Linked DNA regions of Homo sapiens: region 1 is linked to region 2. The links are contacts of gene promoters, found by promoter capture Hi-C in blood cells and fetal thymus (Javierre and others, 2016). All regions are on one chromosome and are shown on one strand. Each heading gives the region's core, a stretch centred on a gene start or on the middle of the fragment in contact. The rest is flanking DNA. Distances are from core to core; before and after follow the strand shown.

What was found. Contacts are between HindIII fragments. The CHiCAGO score rates a contact against its expected background, and 5 or more counts as called.
Region 1: a fragment that was not itself captured here is called in contact with the fragment with the promoter of SLC26A3 in region 2 in 1 of 17 cell types (erythroblasts); the score reaches 5.2 in erythroblasts.

The regions. Positions count from the first base shown.
Region 1 is chr7:107,766,439-107,769,850 of GRCh38, reverse strand. It overlaps SLC26A3 (solute carrier family 26 member 3), which reads left to right. Exons shown (of 21, transcript NM_000111.3): 19 at 1,943-2,085; 20 at 2,207-2,272. Among named protein-coding and RNA genes, the nearest start is that of CBLL1-AS1, 24 kb to the right of the region's middle. The HindIII fragment of the contact is 976 bases long and covers 986-1,961 here.
Region 2 is chr7:107,801,622-107,805,077 of GRCh38, reverse strand. SLC26A3 (solute carrier family 26 member 3) reads left to right here and starts at 1,855. Exons shown (of 21, transcript NM_000111.3): 1 at 1,855-1,967. The HindIII fragment of the contact is 4,247 bases long and covers 1-2,342 here.

The DNA of each region.
Region 1 (3,412 bases), core at 224-2,723, 35 kb after region 2:
GACAAGTGGTACACATATCCTTCGAAAAGTATAAAATTGGCATCCTTAATCTCTCCCTTTCTACTGGATCCTGTCCCTAAAATATACAGACATATTCTAGTTTCAAGACTTTTAAAAAAAACTTTTAAGTTCAGGGGTACACATGCAGGTTTGTTACATAGGTAAACTCGTGTCATGGGGGTTTATTGTATAGATTATTTTGTCACCCAGATATTAAGCCTAGCACCCATTAGTTACTTTTCCTGATCCTTTCCTTCCTCCCACCCTTCACCCTCCGATAGGCCCCAGTGTGGGTTGTTCCCCTCCATGTGTCCATACGTTCTCATCATTTAGCTCCCACTTATAAGTGAGAATATGCAGTATTTGGTTTTCTGTTCCTGCATTACTTTGCTAAGGATAATGGCCTCCAACTCCATGTACCTGCAAAGGATATTGTTTTTTTTTAATTTTTTTATATGTTTTTATATAGTATTCCACGGTGTATATGTACCACATTTTCTTTATCCAGTCTATCACTGATGGGCATTTGAGTCCATGTCTTTGCTATTGTGAATAGTGCAGCAATCAATGTATGCATGCATGCGTCTTTATAAAAGAATGATTTATATTCCTTTGGGTATATATCCAGTAATGGAATTGCTGGGTCAAATGGTATTTTTGTCTTCAGCCCTGTGAGGAATCGCCACACTGTGCTTATACACTGTTGGTGGGAGTGAAAATTAGTTCAACCATTGTCAAGGCTTCCTTATAATTAAAAACATCCCCTTGATCCCAGAAACCTTTAATTTACTAACAATTTTACCCTTTCCTCATCATCCCAGATATTTTGGAAAGTATCTGTTCCTGCTGTCTCTGCTGCCTGGCATTCTTTTCAGTCTTTATCAAAGATTATCACCTTCCTTCCCATTGCATGCCACCCACTCCATCCCAGATCCTGGTGGCCACAATGCCCTCCACGCTCCCTCTCCCTCTGTCACTGAAAGCTTTCTGTAAACAGAAGAATCCATCTTCATAACTGTGTACCTTCTCTTCCTCCACTTTTCTGCAAATCCTAGGCACGTTTAGACGGTATCTGCTCAAGTTTTCCCAGATACCCACCAAGAGGAAAATTTCTCAGAATTTTCATAGTACATGATCTATATCTCTCTCATATATTCAACAAAAAATATGAAGACATACTATGTGCTGGGAATTTTTTTAAAACTAAGAAAACAATAAAGGAAAAAAACTAGATTGCTCCTTTCCCTCATTATTATACCACACGTTTTCTGTCAGTACTACAGGAATATATAAATGTTCTATCTTCCTTGAGGGCAAGATTCAGGTCTAATTTATCTTTTGATCTTTCTTATTACTCAGCCAGAGTTTTGCACATGGCAGACATAAGGTAATAGTTGGTTGAGTCATCTATGTAAATGAATGCTGCTTAGTGCCTACAAAAATGGGATTTCTCAAAGATGATTAGAGAGGTAAGTGGTAAGGAAGATGTTTTCCCATAAAACCCAGCAGCTTTGGGAAAATGGGCTACAATAAAGAACCACAGCATATCACTGGTCCATAAACATATGTTCCATTTTGGCAGAATCCCAAACTTTAATAAGAAGCCACACTTGATACTCTAATCATTAAGCAGGGAGATCAATTCACTAGGCTCCTGCCTAAATGAATTTTCTTCTAGGAACTACTGTTTTTCATTTGCTCCTTTGCCTTCCTCCTTTTTACATTAGGGCATTAAATTTTTTTTATTAGAAAGGTATTTGTTAGTTCCAAAAGACATTGTACTAAAGATAGACTGGTATTATACCACTGCAACCCACACACACTTAACCAAATGTCAATGAAACGCACATTTGCAAATGGAAGGTGAAATTACTAGCCTCAAGGGGAAACCGGTAGCCAAACAATTGTTTCTTCCTAAAAGTTACTGTTTTTTTCTCTTCAGATGACTTCATTGAGAAGCTTAACCGGTATGAATTTTTTGATGGTGAAGTGAAAAGCTCAATATTTTTCTTAACAATCCATGATGCTGTTTTGCATATTTTGATGAAGAAAGATTACAGTACTTCAAAGTTTAATCCCAGTCAGGTATCAGCTCTTTGGTGACTTTCACAATTGCATAAGCAGCCATCTGCACTCCTTAAATTTCTCTTTTTCAACATTAAAAAAAATCAGCCCCTAATCCATATTTCCATTCTCTTTTTCTCAGGAAAAAGATGGAAAAATTGATTTTACCATAAATACAAATGGAGGATTACGTAATCGGGTATATGAGGTAAGATTCTTCAACAGGTTTATCTTCACCTAGACATCACAGCAAAAAAAAACCTTCAAAGTAGTGAGGCCACTTCCTGCATGTGGCAGAAAGTCCAGCACTTGCTTGAGCCTCTGTGCCTCATCCCTAGAAAACTGAAGCAATGCTAACCAATCTCACAGGGAGTTTTCAGGAAAAGAAACTCAGACCCGTACAAAAACAGGATGAAAAAATAGTGATAATAGATCTCCATTAATGCAATATTGAGCATATCTTCTTTTGTTTTTCAAACCACTTACAACAATGCTCTTATTCTGGCCCTGTAATAATCCACGTAGCAGGGAAGGTATTGCTCTTTCCATTTACAGGTGAATTAGCAATGAAAATGATAAGCTAATACACACCTCCCAATAGCCAGATGCTTGAGAAGTCCCTAGCACAGTGCCCAGTCAAGCAATGAAACAAGTTTCTATCCTTCCTTACTAGAGTGAGTTGCCAATTCAGCATTTAACTGGAGAGTCCCATTTCATTGTAGATGTTCATTTCTAGAACATTCAGTCCTTTAAAGCAATGTTTCTAGTTTGGGAAAAGTAGAATCACAAATTAAAATGGGTTTCTGCTGTAGGCCAGGTAGATGGCAGGTGTATTACATTCATTATCTCAATCCTTATAACAATATACAAAGAAGATATCTTCATTTTCCAAATGAAAAAAAAAAAAGGAAACAGGCTCAGAGAGCTTAACTAATCTGCTTGAGGTCACATACCAAGTGACCCCAACAGGACTGCACTAAGATCTTTCTGATGACAAGACCTGTCTTCTGTTCTAGTACACCATCTCTATCCTCTAGTGAAAGACAACGGATTGAGGGACCAGAGAAAGAATTTAATGATTGTCTTCAAGCATGGCAGGCAGCTGGTGGTATTTCTCTTAGTTGAAAGGTCTCAAAAAAGGAATTTCTAGTCAAAATGAAAAAGAAATGTAGAGCATAAGATAAATCTGGAACATTATTAAGAGTGGTATCAAGTAGCAAAGGTCAGATGAAAAGGCCATTCTAGAAAATTGGATAGACCTGAGGTAAGAGGCGAATGTACATAAGCACCATGATTCTGTCTCCCAGGACTAGATTCCAGAGAAACCCAATAAAACTGGCACCTTGCC
Region 2 (3,456 bases), core at 606-3,105:
GTAGATTCATTCTAGGTACTGGGCATACAGCAGTGAATTCGCCAAAGTCCCTGCCTGTGTGGGGCTTTCATTCTAATGAGAAAGCCAAACATTAGCCAAGTAAATAATTGTGTATTTTTAAATTATGATGCTATGTTTTAAAAAGTACATGCAAATTAACCAAGGGACTTAAAAAAATACTCTGAGAGAATGCCACAAGAGGGGCTAATTGAGATTAGGAAGTCAAAGTGGTTCTCCTTGAGAAAGTGATGTTGAAGCTAAGTAACAGCCAAACCGAGAGAGAGAGAGAAGTGCATTTAAGCAGAGAAAATGATGTCTGCAAAGAGTGGGCAAATTTGGGACTACAGGAGGCCACCATGGTGGGAGTGGAGAAAACAAAAGTAAGAGCAGAGTCAGATGAGGTTGGAGAGTTGTGCAGGGGGAGATCATGCAAAGACTTTGGAGGCCTGTTTTCCCTCTGTGTAATCATCAGCCCCACAAAGAGGACTAGTGTGAAAAGATCATTCTGATTAATGAGTGGTAAAGAGATGGGGAGGGCTGCGAGAGGAAGCAAGAAGTGCAGCAAAGGTAAGAGTGAAGATGAAGAAAAGTGATGGCTTTGGGATGTATTTTGGAGGCATGCTCAATAGGGTTTAAGGATGGATTGGCTGCGGGTGGGGAGAAGGTCTGCAAGAAGAAGTGTCAGAGATGGTTCCCAGGTCTCTGACATGAGTAAAGGGGAATATTCTTTACTGAAATGGGGAAGACTAGAGATGGAGCAGATTTGGGAGGAAAGATCAAGAGGTCTTAATCTCGATATGTGTCGTGTTTGAGATGCCTATGAGGCATCCAAGCAAAGATGTGGAATAGGCAGTTAAATATGTGGACCTAGAGAGCTGGGGTTAGAAATCTGAATGTTGCTGGGAGCCATAGGACTCTTATTTAGGGTAAGAGGGTAGCAAGAGAGGAGAAGGAAATTCAGAACAGAATCTTAGGAAATGCCAAAGAAAGAGTTAGAGGAGAAATTGGCAAAAAGGATGAGGTGAAAAACAAGTGTGTTAAAAATTTTTTTTTAGCATTTCAAGAAGAGAAGATTTTAGCCCGGCATGATGGCTGAGGCCTCTAATCCCAGCTACTCAGGAGGTTAAAGCAGGAGGATCACTTCAGGCCAGGAGTTTGAGACCAGCCCGGGCAACACAGCAATACCCCATCTCTAAAATTAACTAATTAGTTAAATAATTTTTAAAATAAAAAGAGGAGTTCATGAAAGTGTAGTCAGCAATGCCAAATGCTTTTAAGTAAGATGAGAGTTGAAAGTATTCATTGTGTTTAGCAACATAGGGTTTATTGCTCTTAGGAAGAGCTGTGGTGGGGGCAGAAATTGGAATGCAGATATGGCCTGTGGCTGGGAGTTGGGTGAGTGTTCCTAATGAGGGCCTTTATCATACCAGGAGTTAACCTATACACCACACTTCTGCAGCCCATGACAGATTCCATGGAGTCATCCAGCCAAAAAACACCACCACTAAACTCTCATCTAAACAGGTTGGTGAAATGTCAAGGAGATAACCCTTGAGAAGATTCTTTTTTTTTTTAAGTACACGTGAGCATCTGCTGTGCAATCTCTGCAAACCAATGAAATTACGTACACACAAGTGCATTAAACCACCCACTGGTGGTTTAATCTCACAAGGAACTTGAGGAAGCAATCTTCATCATCACTTCTGCTGATCAAAGTCTCAAAGGTCAAGACCACATTGCAGTCTTTTCATTGTTGTAAAAGTTAATGAGAGTTAATTATTAAAGCTGACAGAAAGGTAATTTGTCCACTGTCTTACATAGCCTATATATAGACATCCCTATGCATATGGATGCACACAGAGCCTGTAGACCTGAGTGGATGGACACTGCCTCTTAGAACTAGAACTTAGAACTTTATCTTGAAAATGTACCACTGTTGCAGAAGCTCCTCACAGAGTATGTGTCAGGTAGGAACCAAATTTATGATTGTTATATTCAAACTGGTTTTCTGTTCCTTGAAAATGGTATTTTTTCTGATCAAAGCCTATTTAGGAGTTATTATGTTCTTGAGTTTATTCCATGTGTGTGAATATTTTGAATGAATCCACTAATAAGATATGCATGTATGTCTGGAGCGCTAGCAATGTAGAATAAATATTTAAGTAGACTTTAACAAGTAAATGGTTGTAGGCATCATTAAGTCTTAAATAGCCTTTTCAAAGATATTAGTGTTCTTGTTTTAATTATTCAGATAATTCCTTTAATTCTCCACTCAAATCTGACTTTATAGATAGATTGTCTGCTCTGAGGGTTGGCAAAAAAAAAAAAAAAAAAAGCAAGCTTTAAGGAAAGAGTTTCTCCAGGAGAGAGAATCACCTACTAGAAAGGATTCAGAAAGGCCATCTGGTCCCAGCCAGGCATAGGGATATGTATCTATAGTCCTAGCTACTCAAGAGGCTAAAGCAGGAGGATAGCTTAGCCCAAGAGTTTGAGGTCAGCCTAGGCAACATGGCAAGACCTTGTCTCTTAAAAAAAAAGGGAGGGGGTAGGGGACATATGGTCTAGAAGTGAGAGATTTATCTGCTAGACATCCTAGAAAGTCCAAGACTAAGGGAAACACGGAGAGAAGAAAAGGCAATGAGAGTAAGAAGGATAGAGACTGGAAAGAGAAGAGAGATGGGGAGAAAATGGTCACTGGAAAGTAGCAGAATGCCCTATGCCACAAGTAGTATAATATAATATAATACATTAGTAATGTATGGGTACTTATCCCATACATTACTAACTCTATCAAGATAAAATCTATTTTATTCTTTAAAATGTCAGGAAAAGATTATACAACTTTCTTTATATATGCAAGTGAGGAACAATTTATCAAATTATTGGACTAAATAATTCTCTTTTCTGAAGTAAGTTAGTCATTTGGAAAAACTGTGTCATGAAATTTGACTGCATAAAGATCATTCCTTTTTTTTTTTTTTTTTCTGAGACGGATTCTCACTCTGTCGCCCAGGCTGGAGTGCAGTGGCACAATCTCTGCTCACTGCAACCTCTGCCTCCCAGGTTCAAGTGATTATCCTGCCTCAGCCCCCCAAGTAGCTGATACTACAGGCACGCTCCACTGTGCCTGGCATTTTTTTTTTTTTTTTTTTGTATTTTCAGTAGAGACGGGGTTTCGCCATGTTGGCCAGGCTGGTCTCGAACTCCTGACCTCAGGTGATCCTCCCACCTCAGTCTCCCAAAGTGCTAGGATTACAGGCATGTGCCACCCCATCCGGCCAAGGATTATTCCTAATGAAAATTTAGGAAGCAACTAATTTGATTTCAGAAACAAGAAAAATGGGGTAACACAATACATACTTTGCCTTCTCCCTCTGGATAAGGGAATAAGTAAGTATATAAAGAAATGAACAAATGTTTAATACCTCCTAAACAGCTCATATTCGACTAAGAAAC